Linked DNA regions of Homo sapiens: all the other regions are linked to region 3. The links are contacts of gene promoters, found by promoter capture Hi-C in blood cells and fetal thymus (Javierre and others, 2016). All regions are on one chromosome and are shown on one strand. The core of a region is centred on a gene start or on the middle of the fragment in contact, and the rest is flanking DNA. Distances in the headings are between cores, read along the strand shown. Region 1 overlaps CKAP5 (cytoskeleton associated protein 5). Region 2 overlaps CKAP5 (cytoskeleton associated protein 5). Region 3 holds the start of FNBP4 (formin binding protein 4). Region 4 overlaps CKAP5 (cytoskeleton associated protein 5).

Region 1 (6,284 bases), core at 2,305-4,804, 940 kb after region 3:
CCTGGTAATGCAGAATACTCCGGCAAGAGGATAACACTTGTCCTTGTTAATGGGAAATACCTGGAGACAGTGAGTTTTTTTTTTAATTTGAGGGAAAGTGTTGTCATTTTTGCCACCTGCTACTCAGAGATGGGATTTTGTCAGATTTTGGTTAAATAATAAAAATCTTAAGTTTTCTATGACAGTTACATAGTTGTTGTGTTTCTTTAATCCAGTTGTCCTTCCTAGACATGGTTTGAGTAGATTTCTGGGCATGTGTATGCATTGCTTTTTTAAAAAAATAATTTCTTTTTTTTTTTTTATGAGCCTATCATCACACTCAGTGGTCATTCAAATGGGTTGCTTTTTGATGGAGCAGAAGTTTTTCTCAAACTTCTGTTAAAATCATTCTGTGCTTCTGCAATAGCATCTCCTTAGCCAGAGGTGAGAGTCCAGGAATGGTAATCAAATTCAGATCTCTTGTATTGTGATAGTGAAGAGCTTTTGTAGGTCAAGAGCTTGGGAATTTGCCATAAAAAAGTCATACTGCCAGTGGTTTTTCTCTAAGTAGAAGAGAAAATAATCTGTACAGTAGCTCTGTAATTACTCTTATAGACTATCAAAATACAGGAATTTAAACTAAAAAGACACCACACTTGGGCCCATGGGTTGTAGGGAAGAGAGACAGACTGAGAAGTAGGAGACATAGGTTCTAGGCCCAGCTCTAGTATTACTCATGACTTAATCTCTCTGTCCCTTTTAAATGGTTGGTTAATGAGAAAATGCACAGATTTTGGGGTCTCTTTTATGATGGGATATAGTGCATATTTAATAGGAAATTTGTTATTTATTTGAACACTAAACTGAAAAATCAGACAATTTGGAATTTATTCTAAGTTCTGCCTTCATGTATAACCTTGAAAACATTTCTTAACCTCTAGTCTAAAAATAAACAATTATGCCTAAACCTTTTCAGCAATAGCATGGACTATATGGTATTTGAGCTCTTAGGAAGACATTTTTAGATCAGTGGTATATGATTATAATATATCTGTAAAACATACTTACTTTAGCTGACCTACTTGTCTTTGCCTCAGTTTTAGACTGGGATAAAATCTGAGAGCTCTGAATAATTGAAATTTCTGAATATGTGTCTTTACTAGGGACTAGATCAAATAAACCACAGCAAGCATTATGTATAGTTCAAATTAATCTTCTTAATGCTTCTCTTTGTTGGCAATTTTATTTGCTCTTTAGGCATCAAACTCTACTGTGTAGCAAAAACTTGGTTCTTATATCTGTTTATAAAATCCAGATCAGTCTGCTCATCCCTATATGATACTTTTAACTTTTTGAGAAACTTCCAAATGGTTTTACACAGCAGCTAGACCATTTTGCATTCACAGCAGCTGGACCATTTGGCATTCAACTTAAAAAATACAGAGGTATAATAATTTTTATTGTATTTTACAGACATACTAGTATTCAGTTGGTGGGGGTGGTAGGGGGAAGACTGGTCCTGAGTTTGAAAAGCACAGTTTGATGAACATGTGAACTGTTTCCAGCTTTTGACTACTATGAACAACATTGCTATGACTATCCCTATATAGGTCTTCTGGTGTAATTTGCATCAGTTTCTAGGCTATACACCTAGGAATGGAGTTGCTGGGTGGTAGGGCATGTGTATCTGATAATGCCATACTGTTTTCCAGACTGTTAAACTATTCTGTCTCCCATCATTGGTGTATTTGAGTTCCTGCAGATTCTCCTGACTCCTTTAAATTACACTGCTGCTGTTTCATGGCAATCCTAGGGATTTTGAAGAAAAATCTTAATGAAAGTTCCACATATCCTAATAAACTTTTACAATTCCATCTTTCTCTGGGACATTTTCTTCTTTGCCATGGGAGGGAACAAAATGTAAAGGAAGAAGCATAGACTATGAATCTTAGTTTAATTTCATTGCTTACCAGTTTTGTTGTTTTGGCAGGTTACTTAATATTTGTGAAGCTAGTGTGTAAAATGAGAATATCTTTCCTTCACATAGTTGATGTCAGTATAAAGTGAATTAGCGTGTTTAAAAAGTACTTTGCACCATGCCTGATTCAGAATAGATATTACCAGAGTATATATTCAATAAACAAATATTTATTGAAAACATATTTTATGTCAGGCCAGAACTAGGGATGGAGAATTACGGAGGACCGCTTCTATGTTATTAATAATATTGAAAAATCGGCCAGCCTGGGCAACATAGTAAGACCCCATCTCTACAAAAAACTAAAAAATTAGTTGGGCATGGTGACATGTGCCTGTAGTCCCAGCTCCTTGGGAGGCTAAGGCAGAAGAATCACTTGAACCCGGGAGGCGGAGGTTGGGAGGATCACTTGAGCCCAGGACATCAAGGTTGCAATGAGCTGTGATCACACCACTGCACTCCAGCCTGGGTGACAGAGTGAGACCCTGTCTCAAAAATGAAAAAGAAAAATTGGAAACAATTTAAATGTCCAATGGTAGGGTTGGTAATTATGGTACATTTGTAAAATGGAGTGCTATGTAGACTTTAAACATCATATTCTCAAATCTGGGAAAATGTTTGTGATCATATAACAAAAATGTTGTAAGGGGATTATGCCTGTCTTTTTCATATGATTTATATTACTACATGTGTATTGAAAAAAAACTGGATACGTACTTTAGTGTTCATCATGGTTATTAGGTGGTGGTAAAATTGTATTTTAATACTTAGATTTTTTTCTGTAGTTACTAAATTTTCTGCAGTTTACACACATTACTTTTATAAGAAAAAGGTGTTGTCTAGATAGATAGCATAGGGGTGGGTGCGGTGGCTCACGATCAGTGGGATCACTTGAGCCCAGGAGTTCGAGACCAGTCTGGGCAATATAACGAGACCTTGTCTCTACAAAAAATTTCAAAATTAGCCGAGCATGGTGGTGCACACCTGCAGTCCCACCAAATCCTAGCTACTCAGGAGGCAGAGGTGGAAGGATCGCTTGAGCCCAGGAGGCAGAGGTTGCAGCGAGCCAAGATCGTGTTCATTCCACTCCAGCCTGGACGACAGAGCAAGACGCTGTCTCAAAAAAAAGAAGATAGGTAGCATAAAGTTATTAAAAGGATGTTGACTTTAAACCTCACTTAAAAACATGGTTTACATAAAGAATATGTATAAAGGTTCATTCAGGGATTTAATTTTGTACTTGTTTATATAAACATTGACTAGTCATGTTTGCTAGAATTAGGGAGCTTGGCAGTATCAACATTTTTACATATTGATTCTTTCCTTTTCTTTCTTTTTTTTTTTTTTTTTTTTTTTGGGACGGAGTCTGTTGCCCAGGCTGGAGTGCAGTGCGATCTCGGCTCACTGCAAGCTCCGCCTCTCGGGTTCACGCCATTCTCCTATCTCAGCCTCTAGAGTGGCTGGGACTGCAGGCGCCAGCCACCAAGCCCGGCTAATTTTTTGTGTTTTTAATAGAGATGGGATTTCACCGTGTTAGCCAGGATGGTCTCGATCCTGACCTCGTGATCCGCCCGGCTCGGCCTCCCAGACTGCTGGGATTACGGGCGTCAGCCACCACACCCGACCCCCATATTGATTATTTTCTATAAGTAATTCTAGGTGAAAGTATGACTTTTTCCAAAACTTTTTTCTTGGCCTTTTAAAAGGCCATTTAGCTCAGCAATTCAGTTTTATTCCAGCTTCGTTTTATATCTAAGAAGTTCTTATTTGGGAAAATAAAAGCATCATTTTTTAGAAAACAAATTTTTGGTTTTTTTGAGACAGGGTCTTGCTCTGTTGCCCATGCTGGAGTGTAGTGGCATGATCACAGCTCACTGCAACTTCTGTCTCTTGGGCTCAAGTAGTCCTCCCACCTCAGCTTCCCGAGTAGCTGGGACTACAGGCACACACACCACTACGCCTGGCTAATTTTTGTGTTTTTAGTATAGATGGGGTTCCACCATGTTGCCCAGACTGCAATATATTTATATTTATATTTTTTGAGTGACTTTATTTTTTTGAGATGGAGTCTTACTCTGTCGCCCAGGCTGGAATGCAGTGGGACAATCTTGGCTCACTGCAACCTCCTCCTCCCAGGTTCAAGCGATTCTCCTGTCTCAGACTTCCGAGTAGATGGGACTACAGGCCTGCACCACCACACCCAGCTAATTTTTGTATTTTCAATTGAGACGGGATTTCACCATGTTGACCAGACTGGTCTTGAACTCCTGATCTCAGGTGATCTGCCCACCTCAGCCTCCCAAAGTGCTGAGATTACAGGCATGAGCCACCACTGTGTCCTGTCTTTTGAGTGACTTTAAAAAAAAAATTCTATTGGCCGGGCGCGGTGGCTCACGCCTGTAATCCCAGCACTTTGGGAGGCCGAGGCGGGTGGATCACGAGGTCAGGATCGAGACTGTCCTGGCTAACATGGTGAAGCCCTGTCTCTACTAAAAATACAAAAAAATTAGCCGGGCGTGGTGGCGGGTGCCTGTAGTCCCGGCTACTCGGGAGGCTGAGGCAGGAGAATGGCGTCAGCCCAGGAGGTGTAGCTTGCAGTAAGCGGAGATCGGGCCACTGCACTCCAGCCTGGGTGACAGAGCGAGACTCCGTCTCAAAAAAAAAAAAAAAAAAAAAGTCCTGTTAATTGAATTAAGTGGGGATCTGACGAAAGAACGGGATTTTTACTCTTGTTGTTGCATGAATGATAAAATAATAATCTCAGAAAAGTTATTTTTGTCTTAAGAGACTGCCTGGTTGCTAAGCAGGTTTCTACCTTTATCTGACCAGGAAATACTCTTAATTCTAAGGAAAACCTGGAAGCACAATGGGAGATGACAGTGAGTGGTTGAAACTGCCAGTTGATCAGAAATGTGAACACAAGGTAAGATTCTTCTGGAATTCGATTTTCAGTGTCGTTGGCTTGTTTTGTGAGCAGTTATACTATCATCTTACTTAGAAGTGTGTGAAAACATTGGCAGTTTCAAAAATACTGATGCCTTGTTAGATATGTTATTTTTTCTCATTGAAAATAGGTTTCTGTAGCTCAACTAAAAATTTTTTTGTCTCTGGAAAGAATTCAAAGAAAAGATATTAGTGAAGTGAAAAGTAAGTGGTATCTATGAAAAGTAACTGGCTAGTTTTTTCATCTCCTTGTATATACAGTACAATATACTTCTGGTACCTAAGTACTTACTAATATTTTATTATATAGAGACTCTTCTTTTGAGATGTGTTCTGAATTTGGCCTTAGAAATCCAGCATTTTTTAGGTTCTCTGATTTATATGATCGGCATTCCAATATTTACCCTCAGAATCTACCAATCTTTATTTTCTAGTTTATGCTAGTAAGATACAATTTATTACATCATGTCATTATTTGGTGGGCATCCTTTCAGATTATCTTATTTTTTCCCCAACTATACCTCTAGTTTCTTTCATTTTTAATCATTTTAAACAAACATCTACCATCTGGTAGATTTTAGAATTTCATTTCTTCTTGTAAATTTATTCTACTCCAAGTCCTCAGGTTTACCACTTTATGTTCTTGACAGTTCTTTTAAAGTTTGTTTTGAATCTGAGTATTCAAGATTTATGGTTGTTGATTACTAAAAATACTGAATAAAATATACTAACTTACACAGTTGTATACATACAGTTCTACCTATGTAGAGTAGAAATTTGGAGCCATGGTCCCTATATCCTCCACAGAACCACTCCTTCATCCTATATAATAAATTAGCCAAGGCCGAATACTGTATCAAAAATCAACATGTAGCTCTTCAAATAAGGCCAGATTAAAAGTGAGCTAGTTGGTTTTTATTCTAATTCGCATAGAAATTGTTGGTTATGTAGTACATTAAATTGCAACAAAAATTGGGGGAGAATTTTGGAACTTATTTAGAATCGTTAACTATAATGCTTTTTTTGGTAGATATTGTATATTCTCACTGAAAGGGGCAGACAATATAGATAAATCTTAGACTTTCCGATTTTTGATTGGTTAATATGTGCTAAGAGTTTTTCAATCTCGTGTGATTTGGTACTTTATTTTTCCCATTTTTTGAGCATTTATTGTGTGTTTTTGAAACTTAAAGCATAGAGATGTTAAATCTGTTTAGGGAACACTCATTCTACTTTATAGAATGAGATGTTGCCCAATTTTAAAAAATAAAAAAATAAATCTGGTTTAAATTGGTTAGTAAATGTTCAACTATGATGTTAATTTATGTTATACTTCACTCTAATTTTGCAGAATAGGTAATGCCTTCTTCCTAATGAATGCATC
Region 2 (6,412 bases), core at 2,191-4,690, 960 kb after region 3:
ATTATAAGCAAGTTTTAGCAAGTAGGTGAATTTGCAAATATGGATTCGTGAATGATGAGGATCAACTATATTCTAGTAGTTAACCTTCCTAGGCTTTCCTTCAGTGGGACTTGGAGGCAGAGATATGATTTGTGAAATCTTTGTTCAGTCATCAATTTTCCATCTTGAAGAGTTACACTCGTGTAAAATAAATTAAAAGAGAGTTGCCCTAGGGGAAAAAGAGTTTTACCAACCTGGAACCTGGGAGGAAAGAATGGGAAGGGGAATAGTAGAGGGCACTGAGACAAGGAAAGTCAGGTTCCAGTGGCATATGAAGAGAGCTACAGATTCTCTGTCAATTCTTCCAGCATTTGGTTATTAATTAGAAATCTTATTGCTCTGGTGCTGAATTCTCGATGTGTCAAAGAAAACCTTTTCTTTTTCCTTATCATTAATATTATGTGTTTTCTACATGTATTTTCTAAGGATATTAGCTTCTCACACAAAGACAGTTCTGTGGTTTCCATTGGCATTGTGAATGTAAATATAATCTCTTGCTGTACTATATAAAGAGAGAGCATCATGGATTTTATATTTGAGTAGACAGACAATAGATTTCTGAGAGATCTAGGGTAGCAGTAGAAACTTCTTTCCCTTTTCACGTGGTGGGGTGGAGGGAATCAGAGACCACAAACAAGTAAAAAGAAACTGAATTTTGTGGCTAAAATATTTAAAACAATGAAAAGTTAACTTCAGTTGTAAAAATTAACCTGAAACGACATTTTCTTTTCTTTTTGCCTTAAGTAGTGACAGAGACATTTTATTTTTTTTATTTTCTTTTTTGAGATGGAGTTTCGTTATTGTTGCCCAGGCTGGAGTGCAGTGGCACGATCTCGGCTCACTGCAACCTCTGCCTCCCGTGTTCAAGTGATTCTTCTGCCTCAGCCTCCCAAATAGCTGGGATTTATAGGCACTTGCCATCACACCCAGCTAATTTTTGTGTTTTTAGTAGAGACGGGGTTTCACCATGTTGGCCAGGCTAGTCTCGAACTCCTGACCTCAGGTGATCTACCCTCCTTGGCCTCCCAAAGTGCTGGGATTACAGGCATGAGCCACGGTGCCCAGCTGACATTTTATTTTTTGTATTTGATTTTAGTTATATGTACACACAAACTTTGTATTATGTTGACTTCCTAGAAACATAACAAAAGTGGGGAAATGGTGAAATGGAAAAAAGTGGGGAAATGGTGAAATGGAAAAAAGAGGATGAGATTGAAGAATAGATTACAGACCAATCCTTTTTCCCTCCTTATAATTATCTCTTCTTTGTATTGTATAAATCAAGTAATCCCATTAATTTCTCAATTTTTTTCCTTTAATGAAAGTAGTAAAAAGGCATTAACTTTAAAATTTCTTATGATATTCCTGAAATTATTTTTAAACTGTTTTGAGTTGTCACCTGATTTAGCATATTCTGTGGGCTTTCCTGTTCTCACAGATTATAGTTCTTTTTTTTCTATTATTTTTAATTGATGTATTTATTTTTGAGACAGAGTTGCGCTTTGTCACCCAGGCTGGAGTGCAGTGGCACGATCTCAGCTCACTGCAACCTCCATCTCCCGAGTTCAAGCGATTCTCCTGCCTCAGCCGCCTGAGTAGCTGGGATTACAGGCGCGTGCCACCATGCCCGGCTAATTTTTTTTTTTTTTAATTTTTAGTAGAGACAGGGTTTCATCATGTTGGTCTTGAACTCCTGTCCTCAAGTGATTTGCCTGCCTCAGCCTCTGAAAGTGCTGGGATTACAGGCGTGAGCCACTGCGCCTGGCCTATAGTTCTTTTATTTATAAGATGCCTCCCTCCCAGCTCATCGCTTCTTTGATTTTGTCATGTGCCTATGCCTATGGACATTTGATTTTTTATATATATATAATTTATTTATCTTTACATTAAGATTTGGATTTTCGAAGTGCTTTCTTATATAATCTTTAGACTTCTATGTGGTATTAATCTTTTTTCACTTGTTCTTTCTACTTTTCCCCCCTTAATTATTGCTTGTTTTCATCATAGTTTTCTAAACACAGTAATTCATAATGGGTTTCATTAATTTGTTTCCTTTCCTCTGTCAACGGTGTGCTTTAGTTATTATTAACTAGTGGCTTTAATTTCTAGTTAAAGATAAATACCAATTGATAATTACTTTAAAGCACTTTGTTTTAATACTGTAGGCCTCAATTTATGAGAAAAGTGACAGCACTTAAAACTGTACAAGATTTCCTATTGTTTAAATTATATTGAGATTATGAGCTAAAGCTTCCATTCCCTGGTCTAGAACAGAAATTACTGAAAAGACAGAAGTCATTGTTTTTCTTACCTCTGAAATGGAGTCCCCCCTCATATGTTACTTTTCTTAAAAATAAACACTTCTCCATCTTCCCTACTCTCATTTCCCTGTTGAGAATAACTTGTTTATGGGAATAAACAATGAGTGTCAATGAGTGTGACAGGCAGGTATTATATTAGGGTATCTGGTCCATTGCTCACTTATAAGTTTATTTGAGCCTTTGCAATCTTGAAATTTAACAGATTCGCAGTATCTTCTTCAATACTATACAATAAGATCATGAGTGTCTAGAGTCTAGCTCCCACTGGTTACTGTTCCAACAATGGATAGGGAGAGGTATTCTCCTAAGAAAGGAATAGAATGATAGTTTTTTAACTGAGCCCATATGACAAAATCACCCTTTGAGCCATTTAAAAATACTGATGTCCAAATTTCATCCCAGATTCATTGAACTAGAATTTGTTGGAATGGGATCTTACATGTTTTTGATGTCCATTCCTAGAATATATATTTAGATGCTAAATATAAAGCCTAGCATCTAAATCATATCTGAGAGGTATTTTGATAAGGAAAAATAATCAGAACATTTATAAATACCAATAGTGATTTCAATACAGAAATGAATGGAAAATTTTTTTCTTCATAGACTTACAGTAATTAGAGATTTAACAAAATGTTTATTAGGACCCTGATCTCATCCTCTCGTAAGGAAAAGTGAACTTAACACAAGTTGAGAGGGAGAACATGCTTTACTTAATAAAAGGAGCAAAAACTTTGGAGTCAGAATTGACCTGGGTTTGAATCACACAGCATTACCATTTGCTAACTACCTGACTGTAAGCACATTAATCTTTATTTAATTTTTAGAATCTGGCTGGGTACAGTAGGTCACATCTGTAATCCCAACACTTTGGGAGGCCGAGGCGGGCTGATTGCTTGAGCCCAGTAGTTTAAGACCAGACTGGGCAACATGAAGAAACTCTGTTTCTACAAAAAATAGAAACATTAGCAGGTGTGGTAGCATGTGCCTTTAGTCCCAGCCAGTCGGGAGGCTGAGGTGGGAAGATCGCTTGAACCTGGGAGGGGGAGGTTGCGGTGAGCTGAGATCAAGCCAGACTCTGTCTCAAAAAAAAAATCTTTTTGAAGTCTGCACTTTTTTGTTGTTTTTTTGTTTCTGAGATAGTGTCTCGCTCTGTCACCCAAGCTGGAGTGCAGTGGTATGATCTTGGCTCACTGCAACCTCCGCCTCCCAGGTTCAAGAGATTCTCCTACCTCAGCCTCCTGAGTACCTGGGACTACAGGCGCATGCCACCATGCCTGGCTAATTTTTCTATTTTTGGTAGAGACAGGGTTTCGCTATGTTGCCCAGGTTGGTCTTGAACTCCTGGGCTCAAGCGATCCTCCCACCTCAACCTCTTAAGGTCCTGAGGTTACAAGCGTGAACCACCATGCCTGGCTGTGAATCTGCAAAGTTGAAATAATAATAGTCCTTACCTCATAGGGTTTGGGTGAAAATTAAACTTAAAAAGGATTATAAAGTGCCTACAAAATTTTGGTGCCTAATTTGTTTTTTCAATAAATGTTAGTTTCTTTATCCTTATTCCTCAGCACTTAAGGAGTGCATATAAGTGCCAAGTAGAACTTCTTTCATGTTGCATGTTAGGAGTTGTTTAATGCAGAGAATCTAGAATAAAGCATTCTGCTTATGGAACACCACATTGTAGGGACTAGATAAAATTCAAAGTAGACTGGAGGCATTACTCTTACTGGGAAAAGAGTGAAAAAAGAAGAGTTGGGGGCATTTAAAAATAAAGCAGCCGTGTGTGTGTGTGCATTTATAAATAAAGCAGCCGTGTGTGTGTGTGTGTGTGTGTGTGTGTGTCTGTCTGTCTGTCTGTCTGTCTGTCTTGCTCTGGTACCCAGGCTGGAGTGCAGTGGTGCGATCTGCACTCACTGCAACCTCTGCCTCCCAGATTCAAGTGATCCTTTTGCCTCAGCCTCCCAAGTAGCTGGGACTACAGGCACACGTCACACTGCCTGTATTATTATATAATAAAGCAGCTTTTTAACACCAACTGATTGGGCAGTGTACCACAGTAAAATCTTACCAGGAAGGAACCCAGTCGTAGTCAGTATCTTGTTAAATTGACACAGATGCAGCTACTACCCGTGAGTTTAGATAAGTGCTGGGCTTTGTGGGTTGTGGCATAGGAGGGCAGTAATATAAGCAGTGCTAGAGGAGAATCGACTGAGACTCTGAATTGAAGCTTAACCATTATTAGATGACTGAAGTGGCAGCCTCAAGGCCAGAAGCTCCCTCAGAAGAATGGTTCTCAGAAGAATGCAGTAGCATTCACAATTTAGAGTCCCCATGGACTTCCTGAAGGTACCTGCAGCCGTTTGTACTGGTGCTTCTTGGTTATGAATATTAGAGCTGTTGCCCTGTGATGTCTTTCAGAGATACATTGCCTTTTCATTTTCCTTGTCCCAAAGCAAAGTCAGCAGACCTCTCGTCTCTCTGCCATTATCAGGGTCATTTCCTGCACAGTTGAACAGTGCTGACAGCCCAGACTGCCACTACTGGATAGTGAGCAATTTGATGTTGTGGTTTTATCTATGTTTTATTAGTAGAACTTTAAGATAGAAGACTAAACATAATGAAGGGAAGCTCCCAAATTCGATACAATGAAAGAAGAATTTCTCCTCTGTTGTAGTAAATAAAATTGGTCATATATTAGCATAAGAGCTTTCAGAGTTCTTTTTTTTTTTTGAGATGGAGTCTTGCTGCGTTGCCCAGGCTGGAGTGCAATGGTGCAATCTCGGCTCACTGCAGCCTCCGCCTCCCAGGTTCAAGTGATTCTCCTGCCTCAGCCTTCCAAATAGCTGGGATTACAGGTGCCTGCCACCATGCCTGCTTAATTTTTGTATTTTTAGTAGAGACAGGGTCTCACCATGTTGGTCAGGCTGATCTCAAACTCCTGACCTCAGGTGGTCCACCCACCTTGGCCTCCCAAAGTGCTGGGATTACAGGTGTGAGCCGCTGCACCCGGCCTCAGAGTTCTTTTGAGAATAAAATTTCAATACCCTTCTACATGGCTGTGACTATTTTGTTTTCCTTTTTACCCCCCTTTGTAGGTTGTTGGAAAGGACACCAATGTCATGTTGGTGGCTTTGGCAGCAAAATGTCTTACTGGCCTGGCTGTTGGGCTAAGGAAGAAATTTGGACAATATGCAGGACATGTAAGTAACACTCCTTTTTAGATACAGATCAACAAAATTTATCAAAAATGGTAGGCCTAGTTTGCTGTTTGCTTTAAAACAACTCCTTGGCATAGATGTGTATATACTGTACAAAGTAAATTTCTCTCTGTTTTGTTAATATTCAGCATAGATATATCTTAGAAATTTCAGTAGATGTCAGTTGTAACAAAATTTATAGGCCTTATGTAGAAAGTCAGGCACTAGGCCTAAAGTACTTAGTTGAGTTTATTTATTTGCTTATTACTTATTTACTTACTAGTATCTTGCTTTGTTCTTACAACATTATACACATCATAACAAGATGAAACAAAACTTGTAACGACCAGGACCAGAATGAAAATGAGAGTCGGAAAGGCAATGTAAAACTATAAATGTAAAACTGTGAGGTTAATATATAAAATGTGTTTTACATTGTTTTCCTATTTTAATATATAATTTACTTACATATTTGAGACATTTTATATAGGTTACAATGTTATATATTTTATATAGGTTATCTCCGTTTTACTTATTCAAAGAAAATCTGACTGGAGACATTTGTTGACTTACTATTTGTATAAGTTTGTTTCCAATCAAATTTGGTAATAATTTTAATTAAGATGTTTTCTTTAACTGTGGCATCTGTCCTTTGGCCTCTAAATCCGGTCTGCATTACTAAGAATGGCTCAGCATCCTAAAAATTGACCTTATTGATCTTTAGAGTTTAGCTTGCTAGCCCCTTCATCATTTGATTCCCTAGACTGACTTAGGAGTTTCCTAATAGTCCCTAGTCATGTGTCCATTTTATATTGTGAAGCTAATACCTAGCCTCACATGAGCTATGGTATTTGG
Region 3 (7,307 bases), core at 2,434-4,933:
CAGTGGTGCGATCTTGGTTCACTGCAAACTCTGCCTCCCGGGTTCACGCCATTCTCCTGCCTCAGCCTCCCCAGTAGCTGGGACTACAGGCGCCCGCCACCGTGCCCGGCTAATTTTTTGTATTTTTTTTAGTAGAGACGGGGTTTCACCGTGTTGGCCAGGATGATCTCGATCTCCTGACCTTGTGATCCGCCCACGTCGGCCTCCCAAAGTGCTGGCATTACAGGCATGAGCCACTGCGCCCAGCCTGCTAACAGCTTTAAAACAGCAAATTCTTGGCCTGGCGCAGTGGCTCAGGCCTGTAATCGCAGCACTTTGGGAGACCAAGGCAGGTGGATCACGAGATCAGGAGATCGAGACCATCCTGGCCAACACGGTGAAACCCCGTCTCTACTAAAAATACAAAAAAATTAGCGGGGCGTGGTGGTTGGTGCCTGTAGTCCCAGCTACTGGGGAGGCTGAGGCAGGAGAATGGCGTGAACCCGGGAGGCAGAGCTTGCAGTGAGCCAAGATTGCACCACTGCACTCTAGCCTGGGTGACAGAGCGAGACTCCGTCTCAAAACATAATAACAAACAAACAAAAAAACCCAGCAAATTCTTCGGGCCAGGCACGGTGGCTCAGGCCTGTAATCCTAGCACTCTTGGAAGCCAAGGCGGGTGGATCACCTGAGGTCAGGAGTTTGAGACCAGCCTGGCCAACATGGCGAAACCCCGTCTACTAAAAATGCAAAAAATTAGTAGGGGGTGGTGGCGGGTGCCTGTAATTCCAGCTACTCGGGAGGCTGAGGGAGGAGAATCGCTTGAACCCAGGAGGCGGAAGTTGCAGTGAGCTGAGATCATGCCATTGCACTCCAGCCTGGGTGACAAGAGCAAAACTCCCTCTAAAAAAAAAAAAAAAATTAGGCCAGGCACCGTGGCTCACGTCTGTAATCCCTACACTTTGGGAGGCTAAGGCAGGCAGATCACTTGAGGTCAGGAGTTCAAGACCAGCCTGGCCAACATGGTGAAACGTCTCTACTAAAAATACAAAAATTAGTGGGGGTGATGGCATGCGCCTGTAGTCCCAGCTACTCCAGAGGCTGAGATGGGAGAATTGCTTGAACCCACGAGGTGGAGGTTGCAGTGAGCCTGTAGCAGGACGAGCCGCAGACAAAACTCCTCAGACACCGAGTTAAAGAAGGAAGGGGTTTATTCAGCCAGAGGCATCGGCAAGACTCCTGTCTCAAGAGCCGAGCTGCCCGAGTGAGCAATTCCTGTCCCTTTTAAGGGCTCACAGCTCTAAGGTGGTGCGCATGAGAGGGTTCGTGATCGACTGAGCAAGCAGGAGGTAAGTGACTGGGGGCTGCATGCACCGGTAATTAGATCGGAACAAAACAGGATAGGGATTTTCACAGTGCTTTTCTATACGATGTCTTTAATCTATAGATAACATAACCGATTAGGTCAGGGGTCAATCTTTAACTACCAGGCCCAGGGTGTGGTGCCGGGCTGTCTGCCTGTGGATTTCATTTCTGCCTTTTAGTTTTTACTTTTTCTTTCTTTGGAGGCAGAAACTGGGCATAAGACAATATGAGGGGTGGTCTCCTCCCTTAAGCCAAAATCGCACCACTGCCTTCCAACCTGGGCGACTCTGTATACAAAAAAAAATCTGTAATCTCAGCACTTTGGGAGGCCAAGGCAGACAGATCATGAGGTCAGGAGATCTAGACCAGCCTGGCCAATATGGTGAAACCACATCTCTACTAAGATACAAAAAATTAGACAGGCAAGGTGCTGCGCGCCTGTAGTACCAGCTACTCAGGAGGCTGAGGCAGGGGAATCGCTTGAACCTGGAAGGCAGAGATTGCAGTGAGCCAAGATCGTGCCACCGCACTCCAGCCTGGCGACAGAGAGAAGCTCTCTCAAAAATAAATTAATTAAAATTAAAATTAAAAAATTAGGCCAGGCACGCTGGCTCACACCTGTAATCCCAGCACTTTGGGAGGCCGAGGCGGGTGGATCACCTGAGGTCAGGAGTTCAAGACCAGCCTGACCAACATGGCAAAACCCTGTCTCAACTAAAAATACAAAAATTAGCCAGGCGTGGTGGTGGGCGCCTATTATCTCAGCTACTGGGGAGGCTGAGGCAGGAGAGTTGCTTGGACCCGGAGGGCAGAGGCTGCAGTGAGTCGAGATTGCGCCATTGCACTCCAGCCTGGGCAACAGAGCGAGACACCGTCTCAAAAAAAAAATGGCTTTAGCCCAGGAGTTTGAGGATGCAGTGGGCTATAATCATGCCACGTTACTCCAACCTGGATGACAGAGCAAGACACGTTTAAAAATAAAATTAGAAATAATCATTTTAAAAGATCAAATGCAATTCTACGTGTAAAGTGCTTGGTGACTGACACATAGAGCTCAGTAAGTATTAGATATTTTTAGTGGGAACTGAGCTGCTGCGGATATAAAAATAAATACCACTCGCATTCCTTAGTTTAGAGGGGAGACGGATGTCAACAGGATGTCAAGTGCCAGGGAGAGGCTGGGCAGGAGAGGTCACGCCTGCACTGCGTCTGCATTGCGCCCTGATGAAACAATAAAAGACTTTCATCATGTGATGCAGTAATTATTCCAGTCAGTGCAAAGGAAAAGTGAGGGAGGTGATGCTCCAAGTGGCGGGCTCCAGAGGCAGGAGACGGGAGAGGGGGCAGTGTTAAAGCAAGGGTAAATTAAAGCATGTTGACGATAGTAGTACAAAACTGGTAAGGTTCCTGTATGCCATCCCAACAATTTTAGGCTTTTTCCTTGTAGGTAGTGGAGTATCTCGTGATTTTTCCCAGCTAATAAGCGAGAAAATATGAGACATCTATTTGTGTGCTGCAGGAAATTACAAAAGCGTAAAAGACCCACTGTCCCATTTAATGTTCAATGCTATACCCAAAGTAAGCCACAATAATCCGGGCGAAACGTGGGGAAGGGCTCAGAAAACAGCACACCTTTCTTTTTTTTCTTGAGACAGTCTCACTCTGTCACCCAGGGTGGGGTGCAGTGGCGCGATCTCGGCTCACTGTAACCTTTGCCGCCGGGTTCATGCGATTCGCCTGCCTCAGTCTCCCGACTAGCTAGGATTACAGGCGCCTGCCACCGCGCCCGACTAAATCTTTTGTATTTTTAGTAGAGACGGGGTTTCACCATCTTGGACAAGCTGGTCTTGAACTCCTGACCTCGTGATCCACCCGCCTCGGCCTCCCAAAGTGTTGAGATTACAGGCGTGAGTGAGCTGGGCCCAGCAGCACACCTTTCTAGAAGACAGACAACATGAAACTCTAGGCCGAGAATAGCCACAAGATGGAGGACAAGTAGGCAAAGAAAAGGCTTGGGGAAAGCGCATGGGTGGAACCCGACGGAAGTGGGGAAGTCGTTCTAATTCAGGCCCTACCGCACTATTGGCTGGACTCTCACCCTTTTTCCTTTTCCATTGGCCACCGGTCCCTTCTCTGGGTCAAAACAGCCAATCGCCTAGCGCAGTTGGTAATCCCGCCCTTTCTCCTGGTGAGGAGGAGCCAGAAGAGCCGAAGGGTCCGAGGCGCTTGCGCAAGCGCGTGCTCCGCTGGTTGAAAGCGGATCCGGGCTGGAGGCGGTGTCACGGTGTATGAATATTGATTACGCGTCGCAGCGCCCAGGGCCCAGCGCCCAGCCTCCAGTGCCCGCCCCTCTCGGCCGCCCGACGCTCTCTGCTCGCGCTTGGGCTCGCGATGGGGAAGAAGTCCCGGGCGGTACCCGGCCGTAGGCCCATCCTGCAACTCTCTCCGCCGGGTCCTCGGGGCAGCACGCCGGGCCGGGACCCGGAGCCGGAACCCGACACTGAGCCGGACTCAACCGCGGCGGTCCCCAGCCAGCCCGCCCCGTCGGCGGCGACGACCACCACCACCGCGGTGACTGCCGCCGCGGCCTCGGACGACTCGCCTTCAGAAGGCAAGGGTGCGCGGGGGGACCTGAACTCGAGCTCAGGGCTTGCGGCCTAGGCTCCTCACGGCGCCTGGCCAGACCCGGCGAGGGAGGCGGGCGAGGTCGGCTTCCGAGGCCTGCCTGCTGCGGGCCTGCAGGCGGGGCGGCCCTGGGCTCCGGGCCGCAGAAGGGCCAGGCCGAGTTCTGCGCCCTCGGCCCGGGCCAAGCCCGAGGCGCCATCTGTGGTGCAGGGCTTGCCCCGGGAACGTTTGAAATATGACCGAAGTTCGGGCATCCTGAGTCTCCCAAACGCCCCGGGTCGGTTTTGGGTAACGCAGAGGGTGGATGTGAGGATGAGTTTCCGCGTGCGCGGCCTGTGACTGTGGGCCAGGCCTTTCCACACGTCATCTGCCTCCTTTCGGTTTTGTCGAAACGGGGATAGAGACGTTTAGAAAAAGCTCTTAATATTCCAGCTAGTAAGCATCCCCACACTAGCAGAACTGCTGGAGAAATGGAGCTGGTAGGTTCCTAAGTATTTGTGTGGTTCTCACTGGAGTGGTGCTTAGATTAAAAGTGACTCCAGGACTAGGCGCCGGAGAAGCCGCGACCGTTTCACATGTTCAGAGATCACGCTGGTTCGTTAATTGGAAAAAATCCGCAATAGCAGTGTTTGGTGTGTCTTGTAAAGGTCCTATCATAGCCTGGAGAATACTTACTGTTTTTGTATGTATTTGTAAGTATTGCAGATGTAACTTTTTAAGAGTTTTGTTTTGTTTTTTTCGAGACAATGTCTCAATCTGTCGCCCAGGCTGGAGTGCAGTGGCGCGATCTTGGGCTCACTGCAACCTCCACCTCCCGGGTTCAAGCGATCCTCCCGCCTTAGCCTCCTGGGTAGCTGGGACTACAGGACCCTGCCACCATGCCCGGCTAATTTTTGTATTTTCAGTAGAGACGGAGTTCATGTTTCCCGGGCTGGTCTCGAACTCCAGGGCTCAAGCGATCATTACAGGCGAGAGCCATCGCGCCCGGCCATGCAGATGTATTAATAATTTTTATTTACCATGGTAAGAGTCTTCCCTTGATGTTGAAGTTTGTAAGCAGATGAAAGACTCCAGGGCACGGTGACTCATGCCTGTAATCCCAGCACTTTGGGAGGCCGAGGTAGGCGGATTACTCGAGGTCAGGAGTTTGACCAGCCTGGGCGACAAGAGCGAAACTCCGTCTCAAAAAAAAAAAAAAAAAAAGATTCCAGCTCTGTGTTTATTATCTCCCAATTATTTGGGTCAATGAAATGTCCTTTCTTTTTTTTGAGATGGAGTCTTCCTCTGTGGCCCAGGCTGCAGTAACCTCTGCCTCCTGGGTTCAAGCGATCCTTCTGCCTCAGCCTCCCGAGTAGTTGGGATTACAAGCGAGTGCCATCATGCCTAGCAATTTTTTTATTTTTTGTATTTTTAGTAGAGATGGAGTTTCACCATGGTGGCCAGGCTGGTCTTGAACCCCTGACCTCAAGTGGCCCCCCCCCCCCCCCGTCTTGGCCTCCCAAAGTGCTGGGATTACAGGTGCGAACCCATCCGAAATGCACTTTTTAAAAAATTGATGGAATCTAGAGCTGAAATGTTAAATCAAAGGTTGGTTTGTCACCTCTAGTGTTTTCTCTGGTCTGGAATCTGACTGCAGTTTTCTTTTCTTTTCTTTTCTTTTCTTTTCTTTTCTTTTCTTTTTTTTTAATCCAGATGAACAGGAAGCGGTGCAGGAGGTTCCTAGAGTTGTTCAGAATCCTCCAAAACCAGTCATGACCACTAGACCCACAGCTGTTAAAGCAACAGGTATGCTTTTGTTTTGTTTTTTACATTTTTTCTCCCACGTCTTTCATTAAAGTCAAGTTGGGTTTGTACATAGAATGTTTTGCTGAATGCTTTAGTGTTGCTAACATTATTTCTCCCAAAAATATGATTTAAGATTATTTTTGTTTGTGAGAGAATGTTGATGTATATACACTTTGACCAGTGCAAAATTTGTTGTTTTTCTTTACCCAAAACGTTTTTTACTGTTTTTTTTTCCTGATGCTATTTTATAACTAGTTTTCTGGTCCTCCCACTAGCTTGGTGTTCATTAGGCATGCCAACTCCTATTCCTTTTCTAACACTCTGGCTTGATTGGTTACCTAACAAACATTGGTGGACCTGGAAATTGATCTTATTAAATATTTTCAAGTACAAAGGAATGCCATAGTTGCAACAGTGGTTTTGTAGACAAACCTGGGTTCAATTCATCACTCTGGCATTCACACTTAGACTTTGGCGCAATTACTAATTGGGTTGAACCTCATTAATCTGTAAAATGGATCTTTTATCTCTGAGATATTTCCAGATGTGACATAGTAAGTGCCAGGAATGTTAATTTTCTCTACTCTGTGTATCTTGGAAGAGTAAAATGTGTTTTAATATTAAATATTCTATAATTGGTAGTAATTTCTTTTCAGTTCAGAATACTTTTTGTACTATTTGATGCTTAAAATGATAGATGCTTATTCCTCTCTCCTCACCATTTGCCACCTAAAAAAAAAAAAACAAACAAAACACCCCAGTGTGGGTTAGAAAGCTAAAATTTGAATGTGAGAGAAATTTCAGAACTACATTATACCATTTTGTATTTGCCAACTGCATATGTTATTTCATTTGAGACTTAACACTCATTTAAAATATGTAGAATTTAGCCAGGAGCAGTGGCTCACGCCTGTAATCCCAGCACTTTGGTAGTCTGAGGCAGGCGGATCACCTGAGTTCAGGAGTTCGAGACCAGCCTGGCCAACATGGTGAAACCCCATCTCTACTAAAAACATAAAAATTAGCTGGGCATGGTGGCGCACACCTATAATCGCAGCTACTCAGGAGGTGGAGGTTGCAGTGAACTGAGGTTTTGCCACTGCACTCCAGCCTGGGCGACCGTAAGAACCTGTCTCAAATAAATACATAAAATAAAATATAAATTTAAATGTTTCTAGGAGAAACTTCCTTGATTACTCCTGTGGTTTGAATGTCCTCTCGTGATGTCAACATCTTCCATTAGGCCCCTACCTCCCAACACTGTTGCACTGGGGATTTAATTTCCAAAACATCCTTTTTAGGGGCACATTCAAGCCATAAGAGGTATATACCTAAGAAATAATTTACTGCCTGATATAGGTAGCTGATATACAAATTGTGTAGCACCATCCCTCAAAGGTAAGTAAGAATGTTGAGGTTTGAGGGGTCAACACCTTTCTCAAAAAAAGACTGCTAAAAACTATGGCTCTGGGCCAGGCACAGTGGCTCACGCTTGTAATCCCAGCATTTTGGGAGGCCGAGGCAGGTGGATAATGACGTCAGGAGATCGAGAC
Region 4 (6,510 bases), core at 390-2,889, 980 kb after region 3:
AGCCTTATTTAATTTTCAGAGTTGTGAGATAAGTTGATTTGGATAGTTTTTGCCAGTGTTCTTTGTTGCTTTTGAGGAAGATCAGTTTTTCAGAGGTATTGACTCCACAATTGCAGAAGTCCCACCCAAGATAATTACATTTCTTTGGTTTGTTTTTTGGTTTGGGAATTTTTTTTTTAATTTTTTAAATTTTTATTTTTTCACATGCCTGCTATGTCAAATTTTGGGGGTTTGAGACAAAGTCTCACTCTCTTGCCCAGGCTAGATAGTGCAGTGGTGTCAACATGTCTCTCTGCAGCTTCAGCCTCCTGGGTTCAAGTGATCCTCCCACCTCAGCCTCCCAAGTAGCTGGGACTACAGGCGAGGGCCACCATACCCAACTAATTTTTGTACTTGTTGTAGAGCTGGGGTCCCTCCATATTGACCAGGCTGGTCTTGAACTCCTGGGCTCAAGCATTCCCCTCGACTCAACCTACCAAAGTGCTGGGATTACAGGCATGAGCCAGGCGATAATTGCATTTTAAAAGAGGATGTTTGTGTGGCTGGGCACAGTGGCTCACGCCTGTAATCCCAGCACTTGGAGAGGCTGAGGTGAGATCCCACTTGAGATCCACTTGAGGTCAGGAGATCGAGACCAGCCCGGCCAACATGGTGAAACCTCATCTCTACTAAAAATACAAAAATGAGCCAAGCGTGGTGGCGGGCGCCTGTAAGTAATCCCAGCTACTTGCGAGGCTGAGGCATGAGAATCGCTTGAACCCAGGAGGCAGAGGTTGCAGTAAGCTGATATCTCACCACTGCACTCCAGCCTGGGTGACAGAACAAGATTCTGTCAAATAAATACATAAATAAATGGGAGTATTTGTCACCTAAATTAATCTGTATAATAGGATTTCTAGTGGCGTAACAAAAAAAGTTAAAATATTCACACAGTACAAAGAAAAATATTTATGAGCAAAGGGGTCCTTAATCCCATAGGTCTGCCATCACAATAATATCTTTAAATTATTTTCCACAGATCTTTTTATTCTTATACTTAAAAGCCAACAAGTTCTCTAAAATCTCTGAAGTTCTGTGTTGCATGTGTGTATAAGAGGGTTGTAGTGTTTTTGTAGGCAGCCCTAGTAGTAATTCTCAGTTATGCAGTCAGTATAGTAATTTATTGTGTATTTTAGGGTGTGTATTCAGTACTAAATGCAAATAATCATAAGAGGAGGAAAATTTAAAAATCAGATTTTTCAATTAATAAACTTTCTGTGCAATATTACTTGTTAGTATTTTGGAACACTGAGTAGCTTTTTTTCCCTCTCTTCACTGTCAGTTAAGTAATTGGTAACAATTAAAGGATACAAATTATTTTGCATATTTGTTTAAAATCCTGATTTTACTTTAGTTGTGTTTCCAGCTGTCCCTAACCATGTCATATCTGTTACATGCTGTTAATACAAGTAAATAAATAAATGTCCTTGGCTTGCTCTTAGCTTTATGATACTGATCCTTGTTCAGGTGATGCAAATGAAGCTTCATATAGTTGCTTTGATTGCCCAGAAGGGAAATTTTTCCAAAACGTCAGCTCAGGTTGTATTAGATGGCCTTGTGGACAAGATTGGAGATGTGAAATGTGGGAACAATGCAAAAGAAGCTATGACAGCAATAGCCGAAGCCTGTATGTTACCATGGACTGCTGAACAGGTTAGTGACACAGAAGTCTTATTCCTCTAGTTTTCCCAATTTTTTCCCCCAAACTTTAAGCTTACTAATTAAACATTAGTTTTTATCTTCTCAAGTAAAATCTTTTTTGATACTGCATTTTTTTTGAGATGGAGTTTCACTCTGTCGCCCAGGCTGGAATGCAATGGTGCAATCTCGGCTCACTGCAACCCTCCCGGGTTCAAGTGATTCTCCTGCTTCAGCCTCCCGCATAGCTGGGATTACAGGCACCTGCCACCACGCCTGCCTAATTTTTGAATTTTAATAGAGACAGGATTTCGCCACGTTGGCCAGGCTTGTCTCGAACTCCTGACCTCAGGTGATCTGCCTGCCTCGGCCTCCCAAAGTGCTGGGATTACAGGTGTGAGCCACCATGCCCGGCCCTTTGATACTGCATTTTTATTTTTACCTTAAAAAATACTCTATTGCCTAGTGATGAAAATTCATCTTAGTCAAAAATATTCGGTCAGACACAGAGGCTCACACCTGCAATCCCAGCACTTTGGGAGGCCGAGGCAGGAGGATGACTTGAGGCCAGGAGTTTGAGAGCAGCCTGGCCAACATGGTGAAATCCCGTCTCTACCAAAAATACAAAAATTAGCCAGGCGTGGTGGTGCACACCTGTAATGCCAGCTACTAGGGAGGCTGAGGCAGGAGAATCACTTGAACCTGGGAGACAGACGTGGCAGTGAGCCGAGATCACGCCACTGTACTCCAGCCTGGGCAACAGAGTGAGACTGTCTCAAAACAAATAAACAAAAAATTCTATAGAAGGTGAAAGCCCACGAGCTTGAGGCTGCAATGATTGATGATTGTGCCACTGTACTCCTGGGTGACAGAGCAAGACCCTGTCTCTAAAAAAAAAAAAAAAACATTATAATGCAGAGTAATTGCTGCAAAGCTATAAATAGTCCAGAATGCCTTTAGTCCTACTATCATTTCACCTCATTTTCTTGTGTAGGTTCACTCTTGTTCCTAAGGCATTCTTGCAGTTGTTTTAGCGTCAGAAAACTAGTTTAATGCACATCTGCCTTAATGTCATGCTGTATTTCTATAAGAAATACGAGATAAAACACAGATCTGCTGTTTTTCCCTTTTCAGGTTGTGTCAATGGCTTTCTCACAAAAGAATCCCAAAAATCAGTCAGAAACTCTGAATTGGCTATCAAATGCCATAAAAGAATTTGGTTTTTCTGGGTAAGTCAGAACGAAATCAAGTGGAAAATAGTTAAATGTTCTGTCAGTCTCTAAGTCGTGCTGTTTATAATAATAGCTATTGCTGTTTATTTCTGAAGAGTGAGAGCTGGATTGTCTCATTTATATAAAAGAAAATTACCTTTGTTCTCAAAGGTCTATATTGGCTTGTGTTCCTGCTTTTTGATGTTCACTGAAAGAGTTCTCTACGTTATTTTTCCTTAAGCATTAATAGCTGTCCCACAGAAAATCCAGTTCCAAGAATTTCTAGTCAAATACATTAGGAAATTTCTGTATATAATTACATTTGTTTAAAGACCTATAGTATGCCTTGGCGAATTAACTGCTGTCAGAAATCCTGCAATAGAAGAGCTTGTTTAACTTTGTTTAACCCACTGTTCCCAAACTTATTTGCTTATAGAGCACGGTTGTTTATTTAAAACAAAACTTTATACAGTTTACTTTATCCCAGGTACTTTTAAAAAGCACTTTCTAAATCATAATTCATTTGATTTAATCATCATAACAACTAAGCGAGGTATTATATTATCCCTATCTTATAGATGAGGACTAAGGCACAGAAAGTTTAAGTAATTTGGGCCCATCATAGTTAGGAAAGTGGCAAAACCAAGATTTTAATCCAGGCATTCTGGTTTGGAGAAAGAATGATGTAGCTGCTATACTATGTTACCTTTCTCTGTGCCATGCTACATTTTGCAACATGCCTGTTAATATCTTGTAAAAGGGTATTTTGAGTTCTACTGATTGAAAAAACACTACTCTAGAAGTTACTCAAATAACAAAGAACGGTTTGTTATGTTATTATCTGTGGTGTTCGCCCATAGTTGAGGGTATTGTTATAATTCCTCTTAATTGTATAGTCTTTGATATAACACACATCTCTTGGCATGTCACTTATAAAAGCCATATATTTTCCTCTTTTTTGTTATGATCTTTCATTTATTCATTTATTAAACAATTACATATTGGCCACTACAATGTTCCAATTGTTTGTTCCAGTCCTTCAGAATACATCATGAACGAAATTAAATTTCTGTTTCATGGGAGTTACATTTGAGTAAAGAAAGATAGGTAATAAACAGTTAAAAATATATATATAGAGAGAGAGAGACAGAGACAGAGAGGCAGGCAGGCCGGGCGCGGTGGCTCATGCTTGTAATCCCAGAACTTTGGGAGGCTGAGGTGTGCAGATTACCTGAGGTCAGGAGTTCGAGACCAGCCTGACCAACATGGAGAAACCCTGCTTCTACTAAAAATACAAAATTAGCTGGGTGTGGTGGTGTACGCCTGTAATCCCAGCTACTCAGGAGGCTGAGGCAGGAGAATCACTTGCACCCAGGAGGCAGAGGTTGCAGTGAGCCAAGATCATGCCATTGCTCTCCAGCCTCGGCAACAAGAACAAAACTCCATCTCAAAAAATATATATCTATTTTTTTTTACATATATATGTTTATGTAAAGCAGGATGAAGGGTTAAATGGAATAATGTGGTATAGTTTAGATGGTGTTGTTTTCTATATAGTAGTTGAAGAGTTCTTCCTGAAAAAATGACATTTGAGTAGAGACCAGGACATGAGAGAGCAAGCTGTGATAATCAGAGAGGAGCATTCTAGACCAAGGGAAGAGCAAATGCCAAAAGCTCTGTGGTAGGAGTACATGTGATGTATTTAAAATAGCAAGGAGTGTCTTTTCTTCAGAATGTAGCTGTAGGACAATGAGTGAGTGGGTAGGAAGTGGTAGGAGATAAAGCTAGAGAAAGAATAGGGGCTAGGTCATGTGGGGCCTCAACATTTTGAATAAGTTGGGAAGGCATTAGGGGCTTTTGAGAAGAGTAACAGGTTCATATTCTGACTGTTGTCAGAGAAGACAGAGAGGAGATCAAAGACAGGAAGACGAATTAGTAGGCTATTGGAATAATCCTGTCGAGAAATTCTGGTGGCTTGGACATAGATTGTAGAAGTGGAAGTGTTATAACTGATAAGATATTTAAAAAGTAGAATAGAACAAGAGAGAGACAAGTCAGGGATAACTTCAAAAAGTCAAGGATAGCCTGAATAACTGGAAGAACAATGTGGCTCTTTACTGAGGTGTAGAAGACTCTGGGAGGAACAGGTTTTGGGACTGGAGTGAGGACAATCAGGAGTTTGGTTTCAGTATATTAGATGTAGGCTGTCTTCCAGGCATACAAATGGAAATATCACAAAGGCAGCTGGATGATGTGAATCTGGAGTTCAGGAGAGAGTTCAAGATTGGATTTAGGAGTTGTAATTAAGCATAATAGGATTGTCAGCCTATAGATAGTATTTAAAGCTCACTTTAAAGTTAGTGTAGGAGGCTGGGTGTGGTAGCTCATGCCTGTAATCCCAGCACTTTGGGAGGCTGAGGCAGGCAGATCACTTGAGGTAAGGAGTGCGAGACCAGCCTGGCCAACATGGTGAAACCCTGTCTCTACTAAAAACAAACAAACAAAAAAAATTAGCTGGGCATGGTGTTACACACCTGTAATCTCAGCTACTCAGGAGGCTGAGGCATGAGAATCGCTTGAACCAGAGAGGCAGAGGTTGCAGTGAGCTATCATGTACTGTACTGTAGCCTAGGTGACAGAGCAAGACTCTGTCTCAAATAAATAAAATAAAATAAAGTTAGTGTAGGAAGAGAAAAAGTGAGAACTTTGCCAAAGGGAGCCAGTCCTAGAGTCTGGCTTTATAAAACGTTATTGAGTATTTTGAGGGTTTCATTTGTTTGCTTTTAATTCTAAATGTTTCTTCTAGGTTGAATGTCAAAGCTTTCATTAGCAATGTGAAGACAGCTCTTGCTGCAACAAACCCAGTGAGTACATAACAACATATATAGGGCAGTATTGCCATCTTTGTGGATTTAAAAAGTTATTATTGCCATCTTTGTGATTTAAAAAGTTATTTTTCTTCTGTCTGGCAGGCTGTGAGGACTGCTGCCATAACCCTGCTTGGCGTGATGTATCTGTATGTTGGTCCCTCTTTGCGAATGTTCTTTGAGGATGAGAAGCCTGCCCTCCTATCCCAGATAGATGCAGAATTTGAGAAGGTAGAATTTCCACAAATGATACAATCTGTTAGTGGACTTGAGAATCTCATTAAGACTAAACTGTTGGGTGTAGTGGTGCACGCCTGTAGTCCCAGCTACTCAGGAGCCTGAGGAAGGAGGATTGCTTAAGTGCAGATGTTTTGGGCTGTAGTGTGCTATGCCAGTTGGGTGTCCACACTAAGTTCAGCATTAGTATTGTGACCTCCCAGGAGCTGAGACCACCAGTTGCCCAAGGAGAGGTAAACTGGCCCAGATCAGAAACAGAGCAGGTCGGCCAGGTGCAGTGGTTCATGCCTGTAATTCCAGCACTTTGGGAGGCCAAGGCAGGAGGACCCCCTGAGCCCAGGAGTTTAAGACCAGCCTGGGCAACAAAATGAGACCTTCTCTACAAAAAAATAATCAAAAAATTAGCCAGGCATAGTGGCACATGCCTGTGGTCCCAGCTACACAGGAGGCCAAGGTGGGAGGATCACCTGAGCCTAGGAGGTTGAGGCTCCAGTGAGCCATGTTTGTACCACTGTACT

The links. Contacts are between HindIII fragments. The CHiCAGO score rates a contact against its expected background, and 5 or more counts as called.
Region 1: a fragment that was not itself captured here is called in contact with the fragment with the promoter of FNBP4 in region 3 in 1 of 17 cell types (monocytes); the score reaches 5.0 in monocytes.
Region 2: a fragment that was not itself captured here is called in contact with the fragment with the promoter of FNBP4 in region 3 in 4 of 17 cell types (fetal thymus, monocytes, M2 macrophages and 1 more); the score reaches 8.2 in fetal thymus.
Region 4: a fragment that was not itself captured here is called in contact with the fragment with the promoter of FNBP4 in region 3 in 5 of 17 cell types (erythroblasts, M2 macrophages, fetal thymus and 2 more); the score reaches 12.6 in erythroblasts.

What each region holds. Positions count from the first base shown.
Region 1 is chr11:46,819,771-46,826,054 of GRCh38, reverse strand. CKAP5 (cytoskeleton associated protein 5) reads left to right here. Exons shown (of 44, transcript NM_001008938.4): 2 at 4,787-4,880. The coding sequence starts at 4,824. Among named protein-coding and RNA genes, the nearest start is that of CKAP5, 23 kb to the left of the region's middle. The HindIII fragment of the contact is 8,913 bases long and covers 1-6,284 here.
Region 2 is chr11:46,800,348-46,806,759 of GRCh38, reverse strand. It overlaps CKAP5 (cytoskeleton associated protein 5), which reads left to right. Exons shown (of 44, transcript NM_001008938.4): 9 at 5,456-5,560. Among named protein-coding and RNA genes, the nearest start is that of SNORD67, 41 kb to the right of the region's middle. The HindIII fragment of the contact is 2,298 bases long and covers 2,292-4,589 here.
Region 3 is chr11:47,763,717-47,771,023 of GRCh38, reverse strand. FNBP4 (formin binding protein 4) reads left to right here and starts at 3,683. Exons shown (of 17, transcript NM_015308.5): 1 at 3,683-3,955; 2 at 5,662-5,754. The coding sequence starts at 3,736. RefSeq lists a silencer at 3,669-4,278 and enhancers at 3,468-4,392, 4,539-4,598, 4,393-5,318. The HindIII fragment of the contact is 14,946 bases long and covers 1-7,307 here.
Region 4 is chr11:46,779,670-46,786,179 of GRCh38, reverse strand. It overlaps CKAP5 (cytoskeleton associated protein 5), which reads left to right. Exons shown (of 44, transcript NM_001008938.4): 17 at 1,507-1,692; 18 at 2,812-2,906; 19 at 5,695-5,752; 20 at 5,861-5,986. Among named protein-coding and RNA genes, the nearest start is that of SNORD67, 20 kb to the right of the region's middle. The HindIII fragment of the contact is 231 bases long and covers 1,524-1,754 here.